Linked DNA regions of Homo sapiens: regions 2, 3, 4, 5, 6 and 7 are each linked to region 1. The links are contacts of gene promoters, found by promoter capture Hi-C in blood cells and fetal thymus (Javierre and others, 2016). All regions are on one chromosome and are shown on one strand. Each heading gives the region's core, a stretch centred on a gene start or on the middle of the fragment in contact. The rest is flanking DNA. Distances are from core to core; before and after follow the strand shown. Region 1 holds the start of CCDC184 (coiled-coil domain containing 184). Region 2 overlaps LOC105369750 (a long non-coding RNA gene). Region 3 overlaps ZNF641 (zinc finger protein 641). Region 4 has its middle 37 kb from the start of ZNF641. Region 5 overlaps COL2A1 (collagen type II alpha 1 chain). Region 6 has its middle 15 kb from the start of ZNF641. Region 7 has its middle 40 kb from the start of ANP32D.

Evidence for each region. The method cuts DNA at HindIII sites, captures the fragments that hold promoters and counts their contacts. A CHiCAGO score of 5 or more calls a contact.
Region 2: a contact is called between a fragment that was not itself captured here and the fragment with the promoter of CCDC184 in region 1, in 1 of 17 cell types (megakaryocytes). The highest score is 5.6, in megakaryocytes.
Region 3: a contact is called between a fragment that was not itself captured here and the fragment with the promoter of CCDC184 in region 1, in 5 of 17 cell types (monocytes, neutrophils, M1 macrophages and 2 more). The highest score is 10.7, in monocytes.
Region 4: a contact is called between a fragment that was not itself captured here and the fragment with the promoter of CCDC184 in region 1, in 1 of 17 cell types (neutrophils). The highest score is 5.5, in neutrophils.
Region 5: a fragment that was not itself captured here is called in contact with the fragment with the promoter of CCDC184 in region 1 in 2 of 17 cell types (megakaryocytes and naive B cells); the score reaches 7.0 in megakaryocytes.
Region 6: a contact is called between a fragment that was not itself captured here and the fragment with the promoter of CCDC184 in region 1, in 3 of 17 cell types (monocytes, neutrophils and M1 macrophages). The highest score is 6.1, in monocytes.
Region 7: a fragment that was not itself captured here is called in contact with the fragment with the promoter of CCDC184 in region 1 in 3 of 17 cell types (M1 macrophages, megakaryocytes and M0 macrophages); the score reaches 8.3 in M1 macrophages.

The regions. Positions count from the first base shown.
Region 1 is chr12:48,182,348-48,185,841 of GRCh38, forward strand. CCDC184 (coiled-coil domain containing 184) reads left to right here and starts at 1,297. Exons shown (of 1, transcript NM_001013635.4): 1 at 1,297-3,494. The coding sequence starts at 1,776. The coding sequence ends at 2,360. The HindIII fragment of the contact is 3,853 bases long and covers 1-2,892 here.
Region 2 is chr12:48,015,675-48,019,373 of GRCh38, forward strand. LOC105369750 (a long non-coding RNA gene) reads left to right here. Exons shown (of 4, transcript XR_944904.3): 2 at 1,470-1,607. Among named protein-coding and RNA genes, the nearest start is that of COL2A1, 13 kb to the left of the region's middle. The HindIII fragment of the contact is 259 bases long and covers 1,220-1,478 here.
Region 3 is chr12:48,342,698-48,346,170 of GRCh38, forward strand. It overlaps ZNF641 (zinc finger protein 641), which reads right to left. Exons shown (of 6, transcript NM_001172681.2): 4 at 2,648-2,777; 5 at 1,902-2,015; 6 at 1-1,030. The coding sequence ends at 276. Among named protein-coding and RNA genes, the nearest start is that of ZNF641, 6.5 kb to the right of the region's middle. The HindIII fragment of the contact is 4,744 bases long and covers 1-3,473 here.
Region 4 is chr12:48,386,237-48,390,185 of GRCh38, forward strand. It overlaps the pseudogene OR5BT1P. Among named protein-coding and RNA genes, the nearest start is that of ZNF641, 37 kb to the left of the region's middle. The HindIII fragment of the contact is 2,449 bases long and covers 970-3,418 here.
Region 5 is chr12:47,988,666-47,992,248 of GRCh38, forward strand. COL2A1 (collagen type II alpha 1 chain) reads right to left here. Exons shown (of 54, transcript NM_001844.5): 17 at 1,096-1,140; 18 at 563-616. Among named protein-coding and RNA genes, the nearest start is that of COL2A1, 14 kb to the right of the region's middle. RefSeq lists an enhancer at 1,549-1,598. The HindIII fragment of the contact is 742 bases long and covers 918-1,659 here.
Region 6 is chr12:48,363,726-48,367,620 of GRCh38, forward strand. No RefSeq gene overlaps it. Among named protein-coding and RNA genes, the nearest start is that of ZNF641, 15 kb to the left of the region's middle. The HindIII fragment of the contact is 1,636 bases long and covers 963-2,598 here.
Region 7 is chr12:48,430,744-48,434,270 of GRCh38, forward strand. It overlaps a transcript of C12orf54 not described here. Among named protein-coding and RNA genes, the nearest start is that of ANP32D, 40 kb to the right of the region's middle. The HindIII fragment of the contact is 168 bases long and covers 1,584-1,751 here.

The DNA of each region.
Region 1 (3,494 bases), core at 47-2,546:
TCCGATCACTTGGCTTCCCTAATTTCCTAGGGTCATTATTAATTATTGTGCTCTGCCCAGGTGCTGATTCCTTCTCAATCTGCAATCATCTACGTATATTAAAGACAATTTTTCTTCTTCCTCCACCCTTCCTGCTCCACCCCTTAAATAGGGAAAGGGCTTGTCACAAAGGTTGGGGATACTCAGTGTATGTCTGAACTTGGGCACTGAAAGAGAGAGCGGGAATTACTCTAACACACAGTCCCCCCATCCATACCCTCCACACAACGGTCAACAGTTTACCTTTTCACCTGTGAGATGATGCAGACTGTTATTCAGAATTAGAAATAGTATTATAGATTATCCAGTCCAATTCCCTAACAGATGAGGAAAATGATGTGGCCAAGGTCGCTGAATGAATAAGTGGCAGAAACGAAACTGAATTCAGGTCTCCTAAAACCCACTACGTTTGGCTTGGGGAGTTCTGGATGAGAGCGTGGGACTTGGTGGTTTTTGTTATTCATTCAATAACTATATTAAGCATCTACATACTAGGTGCCAGGCACTATTTTAGGAGCTGGGGATTCCGTGATGGAGGGTGCAGGGGAGACAAAAATCTCTCCCCTTATGGAGCTTTCATTCTCAAAACTTAAGCACTTGGCCTCCCCATCTGGGACAAACTCCCAGAGACCTGCGTAGGAGCGGTAGGGTCTCATAAAGGAGGGAGTCCCATCCTTCCCCCGCTCCGGTGATTTCTATAGCTAGAGGGCTGATTTACTGCAGAAACCTCCGTAGCGCCCTCCTCCTGCCTCTGCACCGTCAGGCCCGGTGGGTCCGGCTCCAGAGCGCCACCGTGCCCCAGCTCAACTCTGGGATCATTAGCAACAGCCTCTCTACCCTCTCCGCTTTCCTGCGCATCGCTGGAGGACAGGGAGGCAGGACTCGACTTTAGCGCCATCCTCTGAGAAAGGAATGCGGGCTGGAAAAATCTTTCCAGGGCAGTCTCGCTGGGTCTCATACCCCGGCTAGGGGAGGGACGATCTCTCCCGGACTTGGAGGTTTCTGCAGCAGACGGCTCTCTCATACTTCCCTATTAAACATTGCGACCACACGCTCTTTCCAGCCTTGGCCGAAGCCACTGTAGCGTCCCCTCTCCTCCCCCCACCCCGCTAGTCCAGACTCCAGAGCCCCACTGCAGCTTCCAGCCATCCTCCCTTTTTCTTCGCCACTTCCTGGTTACCATGGAGACACACGTCATTTACGTGCCGTGCGTCGCCTTGGAAACAGAGGAGCATCCGCGACACCCCCGGGAGACCCACCCCAGCTGCTGCTGCCACACTCGCGGGCGCTGCCCGGTAATGGCCTGGGGGAGTCCCGAGTCCGACGCGCCGCTGGCCTCAGCCTGGACGCGGACCCCTCCGCGAGCGCGTCTGTGACCCACGGAACCGGCAGGCGCTCTCTGCTTGTGGCGCCCAGAGGGCGGCGCTGACACGGGCGCGATCCGGGAGGCGAGGCAGGGCAGGGCACTTTCGTCCCGGGGCGATCCCAAGAGACGCCGGCTCTGGGACCCTCGCCGGGTCCTCGTCCCGCAGCCTCTTCTCGGCCTCCCGCGATCCTGCCTGCGCCCTCTGCCCAGGACTCGTCTCTCACGTCGGCTCCCCGCCAGTCTCGGGAGCCTCCGCTTCCCTCGGCTCCCGCTAGCCCCTCCCGGGACCTCTCCCCCTCCACCCCCTCCCCCACCCCGGAGGCCGGGCTGGACGCGACCCAGAGCCTCCGCCACCCGCTTCTGCCACTCAATGGAGGACGGTCTGCTGGAGATCATGACCAAGGACGGCGGCGACATGCCGGCGCCCCTGGAGGTGTCCACCGTGCCGGCAGTGGGGGACGTGATCTCCGGGGAGTACAACGGCGGCATGAAGGAACTGATGGAGCACCTGAAAGCCCAGCTGCAAGCCCTGTTTGAGGACGTGAGGGCCATGAGGGGGGCCCTGGACGAGCAGGCCTCGCACATCCAGGTGCTCTCGGACGACGTGTGCGCCAACCAGCGAGCCATCGTCTCCATGTGCCAGATTATGACCACTGCGCCCCGCCAGGGCGGCTTGGGCGTGGTCGGCGGCAAGGGGAGCTTCCAGAGCGACCCCCAAGAGCCGGAGACTCCTTCGCCTGGGATCGGGGACAGCGGCTTGCTGGGTCGCGATCCCGAGGACGAGGAGGAAGAGGAAGAAGAGAAGGAGATGCCCAGCCCCGCCACACCCTCCAGTCACTGTGAGCGCCCCGAAAGCCCCTGTGCTGGTCTCCTTGGGGGGGACGGGCCACTTGTGGAGCCCCTCGACATGCCCGACATTACCCTGCTGCAACTGGAGGGCGAGGCCTCCCTGTGAGGGGACTCCGTGGGGCACTACCTTCCCGGGCTGTCTTTGGGTTTCCGAGTGCATGACGCGAGGGGGACTGAACGGCGCGGTGCGGCATGCTTCACTTGGACAGCTGCTCTTGTGGGTCAGGCAGAGAGAGACTCCCTCGAGGAAGGATTTGTAGGGTGAAGGACTTTGGGAGCATCGAGAATTCTTTCTGCCCAACTAAGCGAATTATAGCGAACTGCGGAAAGGTGAGGCTCCGGGAGAGGAAGCGCCCATCTCTGGACTCCCATCCATCCCTATCCTGTCCTTTCCCCCTTCCCAGACAACAGGAGAACCCGTGAATTGTGTAAATAAAATTCTGCTTTTTCTATTCTGAAAAAGGACTTACCTAGGACCATGGCAAATAATCTCTAACAATTTACCTGGAAATTAAGGAATTGGGGGTATTTTGTTCTGGCAACAGGAAATTTACCCTTCTGCTGAAATCCAAGATATTCAGTGCTCTGCAGAAGCCTCTCCCCCTCACAGATCTCTGCGGCTGCTGATTGGTAAAGGAAGCTTGAGGAGGGAACTGCAGCCCTAGGAATCTGGGTGAATGGGGTTCCAAGGGCCCCTGGGCTGGGAGGAGCTGGCTATGAATGTGCATGAAGACATAATAGCTCAACCTCTAGGATTTTGCATGCAGAGCGGATCCTGCCTTGTCACTGACTTCATCTGGGATTGCTTTTCCACTCCCTGGGGCTTAGAGAACAAAGAGCCCGGTTCACAGGCAGAGACTCGGGGGTGCTCAGCAGCAGCCCAGATTTAGGGGACATTTGAGGGACTCTTGGGGCCGCAGCCAAAAACTGTCTCTCCTGGCTACACCTGCTTAACTTCAGTTCCTTTTTCTGTCAATATGTCCTTGCCCACTGCCTCTCGGTGTTGCCTTCATAATGTCTTGTGTGTGTTATGTGTGTCTACTTGTGTAGTAGTGTGTGAGCCCTCAGGGGCAGGGCTTGTGGCTCTGGTGTTAGGTTCAGGGGCTTCAGACCCTTCTACGAGCTCCAAGCTATCAATGGCGCTTTTCTCTCCCTCTTCCCCCAACCAGGGCATGGAGCATGTGGCTGTCCTGAGGTTCTTTTACTGATGTGCCGCCCTTCCACCTCCTCAAGTGGTGAC
Region 2 (3,699 bases), core at 99-2,598, 170 kb before region 1:
TCTTGCTACTTGAAGTGGGGTCTGCAGACCAGCAGCATCTCATCACCTGGGAGCTTGTTAGAAGTACAGTAGTTCGGCCGGGCGCAGTGGCTCATGCCTGTAATCCCAGCACTTTGGGAGGCTGAGGTGGGCAGACGACCAGGTCAGGAGTTCGAGACCAGCCTGACCAACATGGTGAAACCCTGTCTCTACTAAAAACACAAAAATTAACTGGGTGTGGTGGCATGCACCTATAATCCCAGCTACTCAGGAGGCTGAGGCAGGAGAATCACTTGAACCCGGGAGGCGGAGGTTGCAGCAGTGAGCCGAGATTGCGCCACTGCACTCCAGCTTGGGTGACAGTGCGAGACTCCGTCTAAAAAAAAAAAAAAGAAGTACAGAAGTTCAGGTCCCACCCCAGACCTGCTGAATCAGAATCTTCATTTAATAAGATCCTGAGGTCATTTGTTTACATGTTAAGGTTTCAGCACTGGTCTGGGTGGGGCAGTAGTTCCCAGTCCTGACTGCATATTGGGATCACTTGGGGAGCTTTTGAAGATCCCAATGTTGTGACTGCACCCCAGAACAATTAAATCAGAATTTTTTTTGGTGGGGGGACCCTGGTCAGTGTTTTTTAAGCCCCCCATGTGATTCCAATCTGTGCCTAAGGTTGAGAACCGCTGCTCTCAAGCTATGCAGCCAGCCAAGGGCACACTCAGATGGTAAGTCCATGTGAGGGCCAACAACTCACTTCTTAGCCTCTAAATTCGCTTGTTGGACCCAGCTAACTGGGAAGCCAAAGGGACTTATTCATCCTCAGCAAGTGTAAGAATTGGCTGGGGCTTATGTTTGTTTCCAACATCTAAGTGAGATGTTCATCAGGTTTTCACAAAACGTGTCTAAATACCACACCACTGAAGGGTACAGAAGCAGCCTGCATGACTGAAGGCTGGGAAGAGTTGATTCACTTCCTCACTCTGGGACCTGGATAACCCTGGCATCCCAGAGCAGTCCCGATGAAGGGAGCCATTCTTCCTGTCCAGGGTGGAGGCCACTGTTTTTTCCAATGTCACTTGTCTTTAGCTGCCCTCCTGCAGCTCGGCAAGAATGCGAGGGGCACTGGGGCCAATGAGAAGAGGTGGGTTTTCCTGAAGAGCGGGATTCTCTCATCCTGTTGATCTGAACAGGACCTCAGAGGCCCCAGCCACTTTCTAGTGATGAATGACATTTGCAGAGATGAAGCTTCATCTCTGAGCTGGTGAGGATTTGGGAAGAGCATTCTGAAACCAGCCTCTCGGGAAATGGGTTGCATGAGCAGCCAGGCCGTCCCAAGGGGTGGAGCTGCAGCCCCCATGTGGAACATGGGTTTGAAGTCTCACTGAGAAATGTTATCCTGGACTTGGGTGATGGGGAGGTGCAAGTCATTCACTCTGGAAATGGGATTCCCTAACTAGATGATTATTAACTAATTTGTCTCAACATGTCCACAGAATGTCCTAAGCTTTGTATTCACAGCTGTTCTCATGCATTCATTCCATGCCGGCCTTAGAGGACTCGGTCAAGACAATGGTGCCCTCAGGAAGGTTACGAGAGAGCAAGCTGTGCTGCTTTGCCCATCTTGGGATGAGGTGAGAGGGCAGCACTGGTTGGGTCCCAGGATACCGGGCAGGGCACCTCTGTTGCTGTCCCTTCCTCCTATGGGGTACCAAGCTTCTCTCAGATATCCTTAGAAAGCTTTGTTAGCCAGCAGGTCGCTGGGCCATAAGCCACATGTGAATGAGGCTCTCCCTGTCCCCTGACTAGGTCTGAGCACAGTTCCAGGGGAGAAAGAGGGAGGAGGCGCGGGAGCATTGTCCCCCTCCTGTCGCTGGTAGGTGAGCTTGTGTCCAGTGGAAACAAAGAGAAAGCTGGCCAAATGTTGTTATCTCCCCCAGCTGCCTGGATTCTATTGCCATCCCTTGTCCCCATGAAGACTCCCTGTCATCTCACCCGCACTATTGTCTGGGCTGTACAATTAGCACTTTGTTAAATGTTCTCTCATTCTTCAGTGGCACTTCATTACTGAGCCATAAAACAACGGGGCCCAGCAGGTTCCTGGGCAGTCAAATGGTCCAACCCTCTTGACTTAGAGATGCGGAAAATGAGGCCTTGGGGACAATGCTGTGTCCAGCCATAATGGAGCCCACAGCAAAAGGAAGAATCAGTAATATTGATCCTATATTTATTTAAATGTCTGGTATTTTGTTCATTATAGATTTTTGCATTAATTTTTATTTTTAAAATGTTACATTAAAATAGTCTGTATCTTGATGACTGAGTATTTTTGGTGCCTCTTAAAGTGTGCACCCTGAGCCTGGCCCTGACAGGGACAATAGGGAGTTGCCCAAGGTGACACTAGTTTTGATCAAGAGGTTAAAAGAGAGCTTGGGTCTTCCAACTTGTCCACTTCCTTCTTCTCTGTCAGCTTCAAGTGCAAAGTCCTGTTTTTCCAAATAAGTAGAGAGCTCCAGCAGGCAGGGTGGTGAACTTGTGGAATAATAACACTTTCACATGGTTATTGCCCAGCCAAAGAAGCAACCATTTGAAAATTCAAGAAATTGCAGATTTATTCCTTAAATAAGGCACTGTTGTTGAAATAGTATCAAAATATTGATACTGCAATGAGATAAGAGACCTAGGAACACATGCCAGAATGTGGACCGTTGGCCCAGCCCAATCCTCTCTCACCTGCACTGCTTCAGAAACCCCTTCCTTTCCTTCCAAACCCAGCTGACATCTTTCCAAAGAGTTTTGTGTTTCTGATCGGGCTTCGCTGCACTTGTGTTTCTCCCACTCATCTGGTTCTCAGGGCATAGAACACAGCCCCAGGTACACAGAGAGTGAACAATCTTCAACAACTGGGCACCAAGGATCCTGCTCCTTTTTCTTTGTAATAGCTGCATGACATGGTCTTCTCCTGTATCGATGTACAAGCTGCCTATTGATAGACTTTCAGTTGCTTCTTTTTGTTCTCTCTCTCTCTCTTGTTCTCTCTTTTCTTATCTTTTTGGCCCCCTTTTTCTCCAGTGTTCTCCACTGCAGAGTCGTGTAATTCCCTCACAGTTTTCTCAGAGCGAGTACATATTCCCTGCCCAGCATCAGCGTTGCTTGCCATTAATGTCCTGTATCTATAGGGATGACCATGCCCCCTTGGAGGAAAGGCTTGGAACTTACCAACTTATGGAAACTTACGGAAATCATCACTTGGTATTGAGATTTTGCAGGGAACACACTCCTTAAAAATCTCCATGAGTGTGCTGTTAAGAATCCCATAAAGAGGGAGAAAGGTGGGAAGTGAGTGAAGCAAGGCTCAGCCGCCACCACGAACAAAGTGGGGTCCACTTTGCATCTGCTGCAAAGGAAGGAACGGACATTTGGCCTGTCTCCTCTTCCTTTATTGTGTCATGTTCTTTCCTTTACTCTTCTCTTTTTTAAAACAAGAAAATCATAATTTTAATATTATTTTAAAAATAGACAATACATTCACACAATTCAAAATTCCAGTAGTTGGCCAGACACAGTGGCTCATGCTTGTAATCCCGGCACTTTGGGAGGCTGAGGCAGGAGGGTCGCTTGAAGCCAGGAGTTCAAGACAAGCCTGGGTAGCATAGTGCAGACCCCATCTCTACAGAAAATTTTTTTAAATTAGCCAAGCGTGGTGACGCACATCTGTAGTCCCAG
Region 3 (3,473 bases), core at 287-2,786, 160 kb after region 1:
AGTACCACTCTCCTCTTGAGAACAGCTCAGGCTGAATATCAGCCCATGTAGGATGCATTGCTTCCCAAAAGTTTTGCCCAAAGAACTCTATTTTTATGTGCTATCTCACAGAACTGGTGAGAAATGCTCTGGCCATTGCTGGGACCTCATCTTTCTAGGGATGGGGTCAGGGCTTATGATTCTGGCCACTGGGGTTCAGGAGAACGGCAGCCCTGGCAGTGACTCCTGGTAGCACCGGCTGATAGACTTGACCATAGCTGTAGTGGAAACAGATTTCAAAAGACAGATGTTCCTCTGTCCCAGCTGTTCCGGGGACTTTGTCCCTGGTGGGTGAGCAGGTGCCTGTCCAGGTGATGTTTTCGGCCAAAGCTCTTCTCACAGCGAGGGCACTGGAAGGGCTTCTCCCCAGTGTGGGTCAGCCAGTGTCTCACAAGGTGGTGCCTTCGGCCAAAGCTCTTCCCACATTCAGTGCACACGTGACACTTTGGCACTGGTGGGGCACGCTGCCGTTTCCTTGTGCCAGGGCTCTCTCCAACCTCTTGGCCTTTGCAGGATTTGCCTTCTGCATGCACTCTCTGGTGGCTGGCCAGATGGGAGTTGCATCGGAAATTCTTACCACACTCAGAGCACCTGCTGGTCTTGTCATGTAGGTGGGTTTTCTGGTGCCTGATGAGGTGATGTCTTCGCCCAAAGGTCTTCTCACACTTGAGGCAGCTGTAGGGTCTCTCCCCAGTGTGTGTTTGTTGATGCCTGGCAAGGTGGGAACCCCATACAAACTGTTTCCCACACTGGGGGCATGTGTGGGGTCTTAACAGGGAATCCATCTCTGTGCTACACAGCAGGTTTGAGAAACTATCTTCCTGAAGAAAAGGGGGCCCCAGGAGCATTCCTCTGGAGCTGCTGGGCATGGAATCCCAGCTCTCATCATGCTCCGGGTTCCAGAGAACAGTATCTTCAGACACGCTGGATAACATTCTGGGAGGTTCTGCTTCTAGTTCAGGGGTATCCCCCTCATGTTCACTTCCATCTCCTGCGGAGAAGGGGAAATACCAACCCCAAGAGAAGAGTCACAAGAGAGTGCTTGAGGCCTAAGTCACAAATGAGGTTGTCTGATACCTGCCAGGGCCCAGACTTGACCCCAGAAGGGCTGAGAGAACATAGTCTAATGTCGTACAAGACAGTGCAATAGATATAGAGGTTAAAAGCCTAGGCTTAGGAGGCAGATTACCTAAGATGGAATCTCAGCTTTCCCACTTAACTTCCCTAAACCTTCATTTCTTCTGTAAAATTGGAATAATACCTCTCTCTCCGGCAGTTATAAGATAGATAGCACAGAACCTGCACATAGTTTAAGTACTTAGTAAATTGTATATGTTATTGTTATTATTTATTACCATTATTTATTTACTACTGTATATTACTATTAATCAGCATCTTTCTATCTAAGCATAGATGGAGAGAATTACAGAATGTGCCGCAATTGTCACTGGCTGAATGACACCTGTCGGCAGTCCTCAAGGCATTCCTGAAATGGGTGGGAGGTTGACAACAATATCAACAATAACAACAACTAACATTTATTGAGTGCTTATTATGTGCTTGGCACTGTTCTATTCTAATATTCTAATATATTCATATATTTAATTTTCACAATAATTTACAGATGAAGAAACCAAAGGGAGTTTTATTACTTTTCCAAGGTCCCACAACTACAGCCCAGAATTCAAATCCACAAAGTGCCTGCTACATCATTCTATTACACTCCCTTGCTTTTGAAGAAAAAAATCTCTAAACCTTTTGTCTCTGGAACTCTCTGAGGCAGAGGAGGGATTAAACGAACATGGAATGATGATGTCCCGAACTGTGAAGGAAGTGGCTGAAAGCCTATTCTAGGTTCTTACCTGTATATGTGACCCTCAGAATGTCCCTCTCCTCTAAGTCCTGGGGGTCAGGGACCCATTGTTCTTCTCCTCCTTCTAGTTGAGAAAGCATGTCCAGTTTGGGAATTGGAAATCCTGCTCATGGGAAAGGAAAATAGAGCTGTCAATTAGTTCAACAGCAATTCTATATTTCTGAAAAAAAAATACAAAAAACTGTTTCCTATTGTTTGGAACTCTAGACAAAAGAAGGTCAAGAAAGAAACATATCCCCACCCCAACCTCTTCCCCCACCCATTTCTGTTAAGTCCCTCTTCTCTGCCTAGAAAATCACTCTCCTTCCCAATGAACCTGTTTTCTTCCACTCAGATACTTCCAGCCCAGCTGGCCTTTCTGGGCGTAACTTCACTTTAGTCCTACTACGACAGTCCTACTCCCTGCATCCCTATCTTCCTCTACATGGTTCCCAAGTTTACAAGGACCCAGTTCCAGTTCTCTCTGCTTTATGAGAACCTCCTAATTCCCAACCAAGAAGAACCTCAAGTTCTACTCCACAATTAAGCATCATTTGCTTTTTTACTTTTTTTTTTTTAATGATATTTACTCTCATTCTCTTGGGATTGGCCCTAGTGTTCTTTCTCCAGCGGAAGCATAGACAGATTCCCTGCCACATAAAGAGTCCTAGACAGACACTATCCAATAGCCCTGAAGCAGATGGCTCCGTCCTCCCAGAGTCCAATCTTCTAGTGGCTGGAGAAGGTCATGCTTACTCAGAGAGACTACTATCCCACAGTTTTCCTGCATGACATATTCTCCATAAAAGTCTGTCTGAGAGGGGTCCAGGCTCCGCCACTCCTCCTGAGAGAAGCACAGTGACACATCCTTGATGGTTACCAGGCCCTGAAACAAAATGTAGCATCTTCTGTCAGCAGCTGTTTTTTAAGGAAAATGTGATTCAGTATGAAAGGCTAAGTTAGTAGAGGAGAGAGGGTGAGAAATGATCTGAGAAAAGAGCTGCCCAGAAGTCCCTGGGTAGGGCACATAGTTTTGGTAACAGGGAAATGAGGAGAGGAGTAAAGGTAGATGGTCAAGGAGTGAGTGAGTGTAATGTTACTGGAGGAATTTCCCAAGTGGGGCCATGAGAAGCTGGAGGCACCATAAACTCATCACCACCTCTGTTTAGCTACAGGTGTCTACTCAGTCACTTCTCCCTGGCCTTACTCTTTTTATGAAGAAATTATGTACCATTTCCTCCTTCTTCCACTGGACCCTGCCTTTTCTATCAGCACAAAATGCTACAGATAAAACATTCTTTCTTGCCTCCCTTGCCACAGCATTTTTTTTTTTTTGAGACGGAGTCTCACTGTCGCCCAGGCTGGAGTGCAGTAGCACAATCTTGGCTCACCGCAACCTCCACCTCCCAGGTTCAAGCGATTCTCCTGTCTCAGCCTCCCAAGTAGCTGGAATTACAGGCACCCACCACTACACCCAGCTATTTTTTTTGTGGTGTTAGTAGAGACGGGGTTTCACCATGTTGGCCAGGCTGGTCTCGAACTCCTGACCTTGTGATTTGCCCACCTCGGCCTCCCAAAGTGC
Region 4 (3,949 bases), core at 944-3,443, 200 kb after region 1:
AGCACAAAGAGTGGGGTCTGGATCTGGGGGTGGGGCACTGGACAGCCCCAGAAACACAAATTAATTCATCGATAATGCTAACATTTTTGATGGTTTCTTAGAGATACTATCCCCAGAAAGAAACATATATGAATATTTCATCTGGTAGGACAATTATCTGAGTCTTTCTCAGTGATTTTAACCTATAAAGAATTCACCTTGGCTGGGCACAGCAGCTCACGCCTGTAATCCCAGCACTTTGGGAGGCCGAGGCGGGCGGATCACAAGGTCAGGAGATCAAGACCATACTGGCTAACACGGTGAAACCCCGTCTCTACTAAAAATACAAAAAGATTAGCTGGGTGTGGTGGCGGGCGCCTGTAGTCCCAGCTACTTGGGAGGCTGAGGCAGGAGAATGGCGTGAACCCTGGAGGCGGAGCTTGCAGTGAGTCGAGATGGTGCCACTGCACTCCAGCCTGGGCAACAGGCAAGACTGCATCTCAAAAAAAAAAAAAAATTCACATTTTACCTTCAATCCAGATATTAAATCTGAGGCCAAAGGAATATCAAATTACTCTATTAAATACTGCAACTTTCCTTCTGCCAAGCTCTCCTAAGCCCCTCATCCAGCTAATCTTCTTTTCCCTCATAACACTTAATGCTTTCTAACAGATACTTGACTTACTTAGTACATTAAAAAATTATCTCTGCCTTCTGGAATTTATATTATACTATATTATACACAGGCAAGGATATTTGTCTTTTTTTCCCCTACAGAGTGTATGGTAAACCCACCTGATAGCAGTAACTTAAGCATACCCTGAGAATGACCCAGTACGGCAGACACACCTGAATGTGTGTTCCAAGCTGGGGAATCCGGGAGTGGCCAGCCCAGAGATTTGTTCCTTGTCCATGAGGAACAGCTGAGCCTCCGGCTCGTCCAGTAGAATGTGGGCCATACAGGGGATCAAGGTCCCTTGTTTTGGGTTAAGCTTAAGTTGCTGGATGGAGACTCTTTTGTGGGGGGTGGGGGAGGGTGTTGCTAAGTGACAATGCTATATAAACTGCAGGCCTTTTGCAAGCAGTTGAAGTTCTTCTGCCCAGTCTGCCATTGCTGTACTGTATGTAAGGCAGTTCTCCTGCCCAGCCTGCTGCCACTGGGCCGTGCAGTTATCTTATCTAGTCCATCGCCATTGGACTCTCTCCCCTCTATGTAAGCCCCCAATAAAACTCCATGTCTCATTTGCTGGCTCTGAGTCTCTTCTTTGGCCTCTTGAACCTGGTGCCATCCCCACTGGAGTTGATAGGGGTTCGGCACAACACTGATGCACTCCCCAAAGCCAATAATTGTCACCGTCTTAAAAACTTTTGAGTTAGAGAAGATGATCAGGGAAGTGTCACAGTCCTAGAAACGCAGTAGACCCAGTTAGAAGGCTCTCAGTATTTGCCAAATGAAAGAATGAATGCCTCCTCAGCTATAATGTCTTCCCCTAACCCTCATGCTACCAGCTCTCTGCTTAGAAGCAAGACACCTCCCACAGTCTCTATCCTCTTGTACTCTTCCCCAGCCTTTCAGCTGGTAACATCCAAGATCAGGTGAGCCCTAGAGTTGAAATGAGTAGAAAGATGCCAAAGTGAAACTCTTTTGTGGGAGGCTATTTTTCCAAACAATTGGAGCTTAAATTCTTAGCACATTTCATCTGAAAGGAACATTCAGAGGCATGTTATCTGACTCTGTATTTTCACATAAGGACAATATGGAAGAGGGAAATGACATGTCTTGCACAAGGTCACGTAGCTAGGTGGTTTCAGAGCCAAGACCAAGCAAGTTGTTCTGATTTCTCATCCAGTTCTCTTTCTGATGCTCCACACATGGGCAATAGATATTTGTGGATTTAAGCAGTTTTGCATTGAGCCTGGTGTGGACTGGGCAGGACAGGAGTGACCCTAATATTTCTTGGTCCTGTGAGTTTGCAACATGTCTTAAGTTTCTACAGCAGCTACTATGGCGGTAAAGTGAGCACTAGACTCAGAGTTAGGAAGCCCTTGCTGATTACCTTGAAAAGTCTGTGAAAACTTTTCAAGACATAACCTTCCCAAATGCAAAATGGGTATAAAATTGGAGCAAATGTGATTAAAATCTTCATAAGACATACTTTTAATAAAAGTTTTAAAAATATGTATAAGACTGAAATAGAATATGGGTAAAATAAATATTTGAGATCTTTTGGTGTCTAGATTGTGCACAATTTTCCCCATGAAATATTTCACCTGTGCTGTAAAATTATGTTTTCAGTAAAAGCATTTTTTTTTAAATAGGAAAAGTGCTTTCTGGCTCCCAGTTCCTCTCAGCCAGACTTCCAAGCCTTCTTCATTTTTTATTCTCTCTGGACATTCACTCTCCTCTCTCTTGCCAAGACATGCTGACTCACCGCTTGTATTTTATATTGCTCTCCCATCAGAAAAATACAAACATTTTTTTCTTTCCTTACCTCCTTCAAACCTCATTTCCTTATTCTTATTGCTGTTCCCACCTACTTACATACTCATATGATAATAACTATCATTTATTTTATGCATCATGTATGTCAGACACCATAACAGAATGCTGTTGATCTCATTTAATTCTCACAAAAACTGATAGTACAGGTATTTCTGACCCCATTTCTGTAGGTCAGGAAGGTTAAGTGGCACACTCAGTCACACACCTTACAAAGTGATGGAATTGAGACTCATGCCCAAGGCCCTTTGACTTCAAATCCTATGTTTTTACTGCTTTGCAATACTGTAAAAGTGTGCTTATGGGAAAATCTTTCTTGGTTTGGAGACTATGCATTTTCCTGAGGAGACTTAGGAGTCTAGGCAGGAATGTGAAGTGGCCCTGGGCATTTGAGTCATTGACCATGCCTGGAACTTCTTCCTCACATTCTCCCAATGCTCACAAAGATATGGGCATGAGGAGTCTGACCTCTTGGAAGAAAGATGGGGACTTCTGAGTCACGGAAAATTCCAGGAAGAGAAGACTAAGGTAAAGCCAGATGGAGGACTGAAAGCAACTCAGACTTAAAGAAGCGGAACTCTACAGGAATGGGGAAAATGGGGTATCAGAGAGGGCACTTCTAGTTTTCCCTGACTTGTTTCCCTACCTGAAGCATTGGGTGGTGATGCATCAAGTAAGTAACACGAGAAGGACTGAGATTTATTCATACAAAGAACAGTCCTCTTCTTGTCCCTTTCCTAAAAATAGCAATAGCAAATTTAACTTTTCATTTTTGATCTTTCTCACTCTTTATCATACTCTTTCAAGAGCTACTGTGCTATATTAGAAACACATCTGGAGGCAGAGCATGACCTCAACTGAACTCTAGAAAGCCCCAGGATCCCAGACTCTAGTGAACTTTCCAAGTGTGTTGCATGGAACGCAAATATGCTGCCCCCAAGCTTCAGGGGCCGCCACAAGCACTGAGAGGCTAGTCCTGTGTGTCGGTCTCTCCCTGTCCCTGCCTCATGCACTATAATCACCATGGCTCTTCATTTATTTGTTTTTATGTGTGTGGCTTTTGCAGTGGGTTTTATTTTAATGAACAAAATATTTAGCTAATAAAGCAACTTTTAAAATGAGTCACTTAAGGAATCTTTGATCAGAAGTAAGGAAAAAGACTCTTTTTTTCTGGTCTCTATATTCACCACTCCACTCATCTTTCATCTCAAAGAAAGCTTTTTTATTTGTTTGTTTTTGTCCAGATCCTGGTACATGAAAAAACAGAATAGAGAAACCCCAATGGGCAAGTGGGTAGAGAGATCTAACTTAGAGGACAGTCACTACCTGATTTTGTGACTTTGAGCAACAATATTACCATCCTGGGTCCAGTTTCCAATTCTAATAGTTTATTTTTAAAAAGAAATTTATAACTAAGGCCCATTCAGATTCCCCCAATTCGATGTAGCTCTGGCTCACTCACCTCCTCAG
Region 5 (3,583 bases), core at 39-2,538, 190 kb before region 1:
CACACTGGAATCCTTCCTGGGCTGCGAGGCCTGTCCCTGAACTGGCTGGCCTCCCACTGGCCTCTAGTAATCCTCCAGAGAACTCCGTTAACATGGTTTGGAAGAGCCAGGCACCCCAAATAAAGCAGAAACCCAGAGGGGAGCAGGGGCTCCCTGCCTGTGCCCTTTTCCCTGCCCAGTTCCCTCCAGTGCCCGTCAGGGCCCCGAGCTTGCTCAGCTGTTGGGTCTCCCCTAGGTTTGCTTCCCTGTGCTGCCACTCCTGGCCTTCTGCCCCTGCCAGGCCTATGGTGTATCCCCGTCTTCTTCTCTGTCCACCTTTCCCCACTCCAAAGTTGTAACTGGATCTCCCACATTTTATCTTCTGTCTTACTTTCCCTCCAGGTGAGACTGCGAGTGTCTGGCTTTTTGCCCTGCCTGGATGGAGGGGCCAGTGGGTGGGGTGGTGGGGAGCTACTTCTCAGAAGGGAGCAGGTGGTTGTTGAGGGAGCAATGAGCAAGGGTTACGGGGAAAGGACAGCTTCTCGGCACCCAGAAGTTCCTGACTGGACAACAGGGCACGTACCTTGGCTCCAGGAGCACCAGGGAAGCCAGGACCACCAGCAGGACCGACAGGACCCTGGAGAGAGTAGGCGGATGAGAAGAGAGGTGAATGCCAGTTCTGGCCTCCAAAGCGAGCCACCCCGACACCTCACACTCCTTCCCTCCTCTGTACTGATTTCACTCCATATCCATTGTGGCTAAAAGGCCTTGGATGAAAATTGTCCCCATTGCCAGCGTCCCCAGGAAACTTTGCCTGGCTTCAGAAGGCAAAGCAAGTTTCTGACTACATCTGTGGTGAGAAGCAGAAACTCCTTTGACCTCCCTCCTCTAAAAAGACTGCTGAAAGGATGGCTGAGGAAAATGAGCCCATGCTTCAAAGCTTGTTATCGATATGCTCAATTGATATTTACAAACTTCTTCTCTTTCCTCCCCCTTTCCAGTAGACATCAGAGTGCTGCTGTGGTTGCACCCAATACACCCTGCAGACTGCCTTGGGCTGCTTAACGGGACTTAAAGCACAGCAACAATGACCTGCTGAGGATGAAATGAACTTACCGGAGGCCCTGCGGGGCCTGGCTGACCATCGTTGCCTCGGGCACCCTGTGAGCAAGAAGGAAGTGACCATGAGAGGTGCCCACAGGCCCTGTCCGTCCCTGCTCCCAGCCCACCCTTACAGAAAACGAAGGACACACTGTGCCTGGGGTGTCCCAGGGCAGAGCACGAGGATGGCGAGGTGTGGGCTGCAGTTTTGGTGTCTGTGCGAGTGGGTGGCCAGAAGGCAGTAATGGGCTTCTTCTAATCTTTTTTTGTTGTTGTTTTTGAGACGGAGTCTGGCTCTGTCGCCAGGCTGGAGTGCAGTGGTGCGGTCTTGGCTCACTACAACCTCCACCTCTCAAGTTCAAGCAATTCTGCCTCAGCCTCCTGAGTAACTGGGATTACAGGCATGTGTCACCACACCTGGCTATTTTTTTTATTGTTATTTTTAGTAGAGACTGGGTTTTGCTATGTTGGCCAGGCTGGTCTGGAACTCCTGACCTCAGGTGATCCACCCGCCTCAGGCTCCCAAGGTGCTGGGATTACAGGCGTGAGCCACCGCACCTGGCCCCTAATCTTAAACAAAGCTTAAATCATTTTCTCTTTTCTTCAACTTCAGTTCAGACCCCAAATATCCGTAACTTCAAGGCCAAGTGATCATTTAAAGACTGAGAGAATTGAGTGTAAGGAAATGAAACAGCGAGGCAACCATGTGGACTCAGTGCTTCCTGCCTGCTCAGGGGGAAGCGCTTTCAAGGCTTGGTTAACCTCTGTGGTTAAGGCTTGGTTAAGGCCTCCTCTTGGTTGACTCCAGGTTGCCTCTTCCTCTGGCCCATCCCCAGACAGCCTGCTCTTACGGAAAACAAAGATGCCCATAGGATGTCTACCATTGGCTCCCTGATGGGGCAGGGCACCAGCCACAGCTCAAACACTACATCTGAGCTCAAGCCCTAAGAGGCTTTTGCTTACAAAGCAAGGCAAGGTTGCCAGCTCCTTCTCTAGGACTGGACTTGGAGGGGGAGGGTTTTTTCTGCCAAGTTTGTGGTGGCACCCCTCAAATGCTCTCTCAAGGTTCCTTAAGGCCCAGGGAACTCTTTACCGAAACTCTGGGGGCCACAGGCTGGGTGGAGCTGGGCCTAGGGCCTGACTGAGCAGGTCAGGGGGGTACCTTTTCCTGCTGAGTCCTGCCTGTCAGTCTCTGCCTCTCCTTAGAAGCTAAAGAAGGATGCTTTAGGGGGAGCTCGTGTTTTAAATACAACTCAACTCTTCTTCCTGGCTGGGGTCCATTTCTCCTAACGGAGACTCTCCAGATTGGCATTTAAGAGGAAAGCAAGAGAAAACTTAGAAAAAATGTCAGCAGGAACATAAAGCTTCAGGATTGGCCACAGCCCCTCTGGGCTGGCCTGGCTGCTTCGGGAAGCAGTTCCTTGGGGAGCTCTGGAGCACCCTCTCCCCAGGGGTCAGCCAGCAGGAGGGCCCAGCCTGGGCCTGAGTGAAAGGGAGCTGCCATGCTGCTCTGAGAGGCCAGAACTAGGCTGACATCTGCCACCTCTCCCTGCAGCAAGTCTGGAGAGAGGATACAGGCCCAAGGGAGGGCACATGACCACAGCAGGCAGACACCAACCCAGCCCAGTCTCCAGGCCAGCCTTGACACTAGATCAGCACTTGGATCTCCATGAGCCTACCCCGTGTCTGGGGCCTGCACACCCCGGACACTGCACAGCCCCCTTCTGGAAGTCAAGGCTGAGAAGGCTGCTGGGATACCACAGAGCAGAGGCCTCGCAGAGCAGACTCCAGAGAGGAGTCTGATGGGAGGGGAGAGGGAGGAGTAGCAAAGAAGGGCTCAAAGGCAATGTTGTCAATCTTCTAAGCCAAATCCTACACACGCTGCCAGCCTAACTACCGTGCGGACAGGAACCAACAGAGAGAACCAAGAAGCAGGGCGGCTGTGCCCAGGAAGGAGGGAACAAGGACAGGAGATGGAGCTTGTCTTTAGCCCATGCAGACTAGGGCCACCGCAGCTCTGAGCCTCGCTAAAAGGCCACAAGCCAGCATCCTGCTAATCTGTAGAAACGGCAGTGTTTCTTGGCAGCCCCAGTGCTCTCTAATCCCCTCACACAAAGTGACCCTGGGGCAAGGCACTTCAGCAGCTCTGGCTGACAAAGGGGGGTCGAGGCTTCTGCTTATTTCACTGATCTGCCTTTGAGGGAAACTTCTGCCAAACAGACACATTAGCTGGAAAGCAGCACAACGGAGTGAAGCTGCTTTATTTTGGCCAGCCCTGCAAGGACCTGTGAGGAGGGGCCTCAGAGCTTGGGTGTTGGGGGTATGAAATCAGCAGAAAGCATAATCTTTCTTAAACACAGCTTTCATCGCATCACTCGCCTGACCAAGTGCCTACAAGGACTCTCTATTGCTAAGGAATCAGAGCTAAACGCCTCTGTCTGGCACCCTGCACCCTCCATCAGCTGCCAATCCCCTCACCCTTAATTTCCCACATTAACTAGAG
Region 6 (3,895 bases), core at 531-3,030, 180 kb after region 1:
AACTTCTGCCTCCTGGGTTCAGGCAATTCTCCTGCCTCAGCCTCCCGAGTAGCTGGGACTACAGGCGTGTGCCACCATGCCCAGCTAATTTTTGTATTTTTAGTAGAGACGGGGTTTCACCATGTTGGCCAGGATGGTCTCGATCTCCTGACCTCATGATCTTCCCACCTTGGCCTCCCAAATGCTGGGATTACAGGCATGAGCCACTGCTCCCAGCTGTCATCAATTTTTCAAGTGTATACTCGTTTATTTCTGGCCTAGTCTCTATTATGATCTCATTGGTTTATTTATCTCATTGCAAATACCATATTATCCTTATTATAAAACTTTATGATAAATTTTGATATATAAGAAGGAAAATCTGTTCATCTTATTATTATTCAGGGTTATATTGACTTCTTAATTTTATGTTCTATCTAAACTTTAGAGTGAGTTTGTCAAATTTGCAGATACTATGATATCTTTAACTTTAAAATGCTTAAGCGTAGCAGGATATTATATTGTGTTAGTTACTTTACACTATACTGTAAGGGAGGTCAACTGTCCTAATCTGGAATATATGCTCATAGTGTGGTTAATTAGCATGTAAGTGACACATTACAGTCAAGAACTACAAGCACTTTTAACTGTATTTCTCATTATTCCTTGAAGCACTTTCAGTATGGATTGCCTCATTTATTTCTGATGCAAAAAAGTAGTAAGGTTTTCACCTTTTCAAAATAGATGTGTGGTGGAGGATCGCATAGCATAACTCCATAACTAAAGAACATTAACATCAGAGCATGGTGCTAATTATAGCAGAAAACAGGCTGCACTCAGAAATAGAGATATATTGTGAATTTATTTAGAATAGGTTAGCAATGTTCTTAGCGTGAAAATTCCAAGATTTGTTGCACAAATAAACAGTTTAAACAAAATATTGATCACAGCAGAGTACTCTTAGGAGTCAAAAACTTCATACAAGCTTTTCTTGATAGAGTGGCAGAAGTTAGTGTTTAATTTTTAGAAAAAGGCAGACTGCCCAAATTTCAGGTCACACCAGCTTATGCTTATCCTTTCATCTGGGCACACACATGCACTGCCAGTTCCTATCTAAATGGAAACAACAAAAATCAGCAGATAAATGTCCACCATAGCTTTAAAAATATCTTTTGCACCTGTGGTTATGTCCTCTTTTTATTCCTAATTTTTTTTTGTATTTTCTTTTCTTTTTGCTCAATCTTCCAGAGGTTCTTTTGGAGAACAATTTTTCAGTTTAAAAATTATTTCTGTTAAGTATTTTCTTTCCATTTTATTAATTTCTTCTAACATTCTTTAGATTTATGCTCTTTTCCTTTTAATAAAGTCTTAATTTGAATACTTACCTTATTATTTTCATTTTTCATCATATAAGAATATAGTTCTCTTTGTTGCTATAGGTATGTGCCACAAGTTTTGACATGGAGAATTTTCATTATCTTTCATTTCTAATTATTTAAAAATACCCAATGTTATTTTATCTTTATAATGCTTGACTTATTTAATTTTAAAACATTGCAAGAGTCTTCTTTATCTTTTTAAAACTTAATATAATCAGAGAATTTGATTCATGATACTGATTTTTAGAGACTTGCTTTATGCCCATTTCACAAAAATTTCATGAGTGCTAATTTTTTGTTTTTGTTTCTGTTTTTGTTTTTTTGAGACGGAGTCTCGCTCTGTCGCGCAGGCTGGAGTGCAGTGGCGCGAACTCGGCTCACTGCAAGCTCCGCCTCCCGGGTTCATGCCATTCTCCTGCCTCAGCCTCCCAAGTAGCTGGGACTACAGGCTCCGACCACCACGCCTGGCTAATGTTTTTGTATTTTTTTAGTAGAGATGGGGTTTCACCGTGTTAGCCAGGATGGTCTCAATCTCCTGACCTCGTGATCCGCCCGCCTCGGCCTCCCAAAGTGCTGGGATTACAGGCATGAGCCACCACGCCTGGCTTATGAGTGCTAATTTTTAAAAACTCTGTCTGATTATTTGATGCAGTGCTCTGTATATTCTATCAGATCAAAAATTGTAATTAGGCTGGGTGCAGTGGCTTATGCCTGTTAATCCCAGCTCTGAGAAGTCAAGATGGGAGGATTGTTTGAGGCTAGGAGTTTGAGACCAGCTTGGCTAGTATAGTGAGACCCCCATCTCTATAAAAAATTAAAAAATTAGCCAGGTGTGGTGGTGCATGCCTAGAGTCCCAGCTACTTGGAAAGCTGAGGCAAGAGGATCACTTGAGCCCAGGAAGTTGAAGCTGCAGTGAGCTATGATTGTGCCACTGCACTTCAGTCTGGGCAACAGAGTGAGACTCTGTCTAAAAACAAAAAAAAAATGTTGTATAGTTTGATTCTTTTTTTCTTAGTTTTGGTCTATGCGGTTTTTTGTTTGTTTGTTTTTTAAGAATGAGGGAGGTGTATACATGTCTTGTACCTGCTGTAATAAATTACCACAAACTTGGTGTCTTACAAACAAAAGAAATTTTTTTCCCTCACAGTTCTGGAAGCTAGGAGTTCAAAACCAAGGTAACCACAGGGTTGTGTTCCCTCTGAAGACTCTGTGGAAGGATTCATTCTATGCCTGTTCCCAAGCTTCTGGTGGTTGCTGGCAGTCATTTGCATTCCATGGCTTGCAGCTCCAATCACTCCAGTCTCTGCCTCTGTCTTCACGTTGCTTTCTCCTCTGTGTGCCTGAGTTTTCTCCTCTTTCTTCTGTCGTAAGGACATGTGTCATTGGGTTTAGAGCTTACTGGATAATCCAGGATGATCTCAAAAACCTTAATTATCAATTTAAAAAGCCATTTGCCGGTAACATTCACAGGTTCCAGGGATTTGAGCATAGACATATCTTTTGGGGGGCCACTACAGGTATATGAAAATCTCCCAGTTCATTTATGGTTTTGTTACCTTTTTCTTATAATTATGTCCATTTTTGCTTTATATATTTTAAGGTTATATTAGGCTGATACATGTTTTGATGAAACAACTTCTCTGTGAAATAAAACTTACCATTTTACAGTAATGCTTTGTGCCCTAAGCTTTAACGGCTATAGTCTATTTGGTTTGACATTAATTAGCTTTTATTTTGTTAATATTTGTATGTATATCCTTTTTTATAATTTTATTTTTAACTTTTCTTTGTCATAATGTTCAAGGCATGTTTTGTGTATAGTATATAAATTGAAGTTTAAAAATTAATCCTCCCTGAAAATATTTGTCTTTACATGGAGATTTTAGTTTATTTACTTTTTTGTTATTATGGATATTTTGGAATTTTTCTGTCCTTTTATTTTGTGCTACATATTTGACTTGTTCTCTCTAAGTTGATTTATTTTTTTCTCTTTATGCCTTCGTTTGGATTGAGTGGTATAATTATCATCCCCTCACTAATTCTGATATACAGCCTATTTTTATTACTGTAATTGTAACCTAGAAATTTTAGAATGCATATCTGACTTTACAAACCTAAAAGTTAATCAGCACCTCCCTTATTTTTTAAAAAAAGCTCCAGATCCAATACCCTTACTGGTGAATTCTTTTTTTTAAATATGAACTTGTTTAGGATGAATTCTATTAAATGTTTTAGAAATATCAGTGCAAAATGACCTCTTAGAAAATAGAGGAGAAATTACGCTTCTAAACTTGTTTTATGAGACACATATTACCTTAATACCAAAATCTGAGAAGAATATTACAACAAATGAAAGTTACAGACCAATACACTCATTAATACAGATGCAAAAGTTATAAACAAAATATTAGTAAATAATGCTCAGCAATATATGAAAAGGACAATACAGCATGACCAAGTAAGGTTTATCTCAGGAATGCAAGGTTCGTTTGACATTTAAAAAATCAATATAATTTGTCACTTTAAAAGAAATTCA
Region 7 (3,527 bases), core at 418-2,917, 250 kb after region 1:
CCTTAAAGAGCTAAAAGTGGAACTACCATTTGATTCAGCAATCTCACTACTGAGTATCTACCCAGAGGAAAATCAATCATTACACAAAAAAGATACTTGCACATGCATGCTTATAGCAGCACAATTTGCAATTGCAAAATCGTGGAACCAACACAAATGCCCATCAATCAACGAGTGGGTAAAGAAACTGTGGTATATATATACGATGGAATACTACTCAGCCATAAAAATGAATCAATTAATGGCATTCACAGCAACCTGGGTGAGACTGGAGACTATTATTCTAAGTGAAATATCTCAGCAATGGAAAACCAAACATTGTATGTTCTCACCCATATGTGGGACCTAAGCTATGAGGATGCAAAGGCATAAGAATGATACAATGGACTTTGGGAACTTGTGGGGAAGGGTGGTGGGGGAGGGATAAAAGACTACAAATAGGGTGCAATGTGTACTGCTCAGGTGATGGGTACACCAAAATCTCACAAATCACCACTAAAAAACTTACTCATGTAACCAAACACCACCTGTACCCTCAATAACCTATGGAAAAATAAAAAGTAAAAAAGAATGTATATTAAAATGTTAATTATAAAATTTAGATGTGATTATCTGGGTATTCACTATAAAATTCTGTTAACTTTGCTGTATGTTGGAAACTTTTCATTTTCAAATGAAATGAATGCTGAATACATGAGTCAATATTTAAAAATTATAAGAGAATATTATGAGAAACAAAATACTAATTAAATTAGATGAAAAATAGTGATGAAAATTACAAATCACCAAAATTGATTCACTAACAAAATATAAAACACAAGTGTACAATAATCATCAAAGGAATTAAATTAGAAATAAAAAATTTTCTCAACAAGACAAGAAATCCTTAAAATGTCAAAGATGAGTTTTATAAAAACCTTCGAGAAAGTGATCATCTCTTCTTTAAGCAAATATTTTAAGAAAATACAAAGATGAATGAAAGCATATTATTGATATCAGTATTGGATGTCTAGAATAGGCAAATCTATATACATAAAAAGTAGTTTAGTGGAATTCTAGGGCCAAGAATGGGGATGGGATTGGAGAGTGACTACCCATAGGTGTGAGATTTCTTTGGGGATGACAAAATGTCCTGAGATTGGTGGTAGTGATGGGTGCAAAACTCTGTAAATATGCTAGAAACCATTGACTTGTGCACTTTGAATGGCTGAATATTGTGATGTATAAATTATAATCTCAATAAAGTTCTTAAAAAGAAAAGATGGAGTGAATGCAATAAAAAAATTATAGTATCTCACTTATAAATACAAATAGGAAATTCCTAAGTTAAATACTGGTAAAAGTTAATTAAGTTTTTAATACTCTACCTAAGTAGGCTGATTCCAGGAATGCAACAATTCTTCAAAAACAGAACATGCACTGATACAATTTGTTATTAACAAATTAAATGACAAAAACCATATAACCATTTCAATGAATTTATTTTTTTCCAAAATGTTTTTATTGCATGCCTATTGTGTGACAGACACTATACAGTACTGAACAAAAGAGAAACAACCGTAGTCCTCAATAGAAGCAGAAAAAGCTTGTGATAAAATCTCACACCAATTCTTAGCAAAATATGTTTAGAAAAGAACTCTCCTTTCAATATAATCCATAGGTTCAGAAAACACAAACAAAAAAGAACTCTCTTAATAACTTAAAGATATTCATCAAAAATAGAACATCATCCTTAATGCTGAAACATGAGAAGCTTTCTCATTGATCCTAACAGAAAGATATCTATACTGGAGGTCCTGGCTGCTGCATGAACTTTAAAAATGAGATATATAAAAATTGCATACAGCCAGGCACACTGGCTCATGCCTGTAATCCCAGCACTTTGGAAGGCCAAGGTGGGCTGATCACCTGAGATCAGGAGTTCAAGTCCAGCCTGGCCAACATGGAGAAATCCCATCTCTACTAAAAGTACAAAATTAGCCAGGCGTGGTGGTACATGCCTGTAACCCCAGCTACTGGGGAGCCTGAGGCAGGAAAATCGCTTGAACTCAGGAGGTGGAGGTTGCAGTGAGCCCAGATCACACCATTGCACTGCAGCCTGGGCAACAAGAGTGAAACTTTTTCTACAAAAAAAAAAAAAGCATATAAAAAATCTTACCCTAATTTAAGATAAAATAATTAAAATGTAATGTTAAAATCCAATAGTATGTATAAACAAGACAGTAGTACTAGAAAGATAGTTCAACAAACTTGACAGATACAAGATCAATGTACAAAATACCACAACGTTCCTATACATCAGAAATAACCAAGTAGTAAATATATCTGAATTTTTAATTCACAATAGGAACAAAAAATAGATGGTATCTGGTAATATATCTGGCAAAATTTATGTGTGACCTTTATCAAAATACCTGTCACCAATGGCAACAGCAGATCAGCCTTGGTGAATGAAAGAAAATGTTGCCGTTTGCATAACCACCACCTTGCTCAGCCACGGCTACAGTGCTTGTGCGTTCATGGACCAGAACTAGGCTCACCAGGAAGGAAAGACTGACCTTTGCATGATAGGCGATTCTATTCAAAAAACTATTTTGAACTGCCTTAGCAGTGGGATCCCTCTGGTGAGAACTTATCCTAAATGGATTCTCCATTTCTTGACTCACAACTTACACATTCAAAGTACAGTTACTGTGCAACAAGCTTTTTTTTGGGGGGGGGGGGGGCAGGATCTTGCTCTGTTGCCCAGGCTGGAGTGCAGTGGCTCAATCTCGGCTCACTGCAAGCTCCGCCACCCAGGTTCACACCATTCTCCTGCCTCAGCCTCCTGAGTAGCTGGGACTACAGGCACCCACCACCACCCCTGGCTAATTTTTTGTATTTTTAGTAGAGACGGGGTTTCACCATGTTAGCCAGGATGGTCTTGATCTCTTGACCTTGTGATCTGCCCACCTTGGCCTCCCAAAGTACTGGAATTACAGGTGTGAGCCACCGCACCCGGCCAGCCAGAAGCTTTTAAAAATATTCTTTGCCAGCGGTGGAGCCAAGATGGCCAAATAGGAACAGCTCCAGCCTACAGCTCCCAGCGTGAGCAATGCAGAAGACAGGTGATTTCTGCATTTCCATCTGAGGTACTGGGTTCATCTCACTGAGGCTTGTTGGACAGTGGGTGCAGGACAGTGGGTGCAGTGCACCATGCATGAGCCAAAGCAGGGCGAGCCATCACCTCACCCCGGAAGCATAAGGGGTCAGGGAATTCCCTTTCCTACTCAAAGAAAGGGGTGACAGATGGCACCTGGAAAATCGGGTCACTCCCACCCTAATACTGTGCTTTTCCAATGGGCTTAACAAACGGCACACCAGGAGATTATATCCCACACATGACTCGGAGGGTCCTACACCCATGGAGCCTCGCTCATTGCGAGCACAGCAGTCTGAGATCAAGCAGCAAAGCGGCAGCGAGGCTGGGGGAGGGGCGCCCGCCATTGCCCAGGGTTGAGTAGGTAAACAAAGTGGCTGGGAAGCTC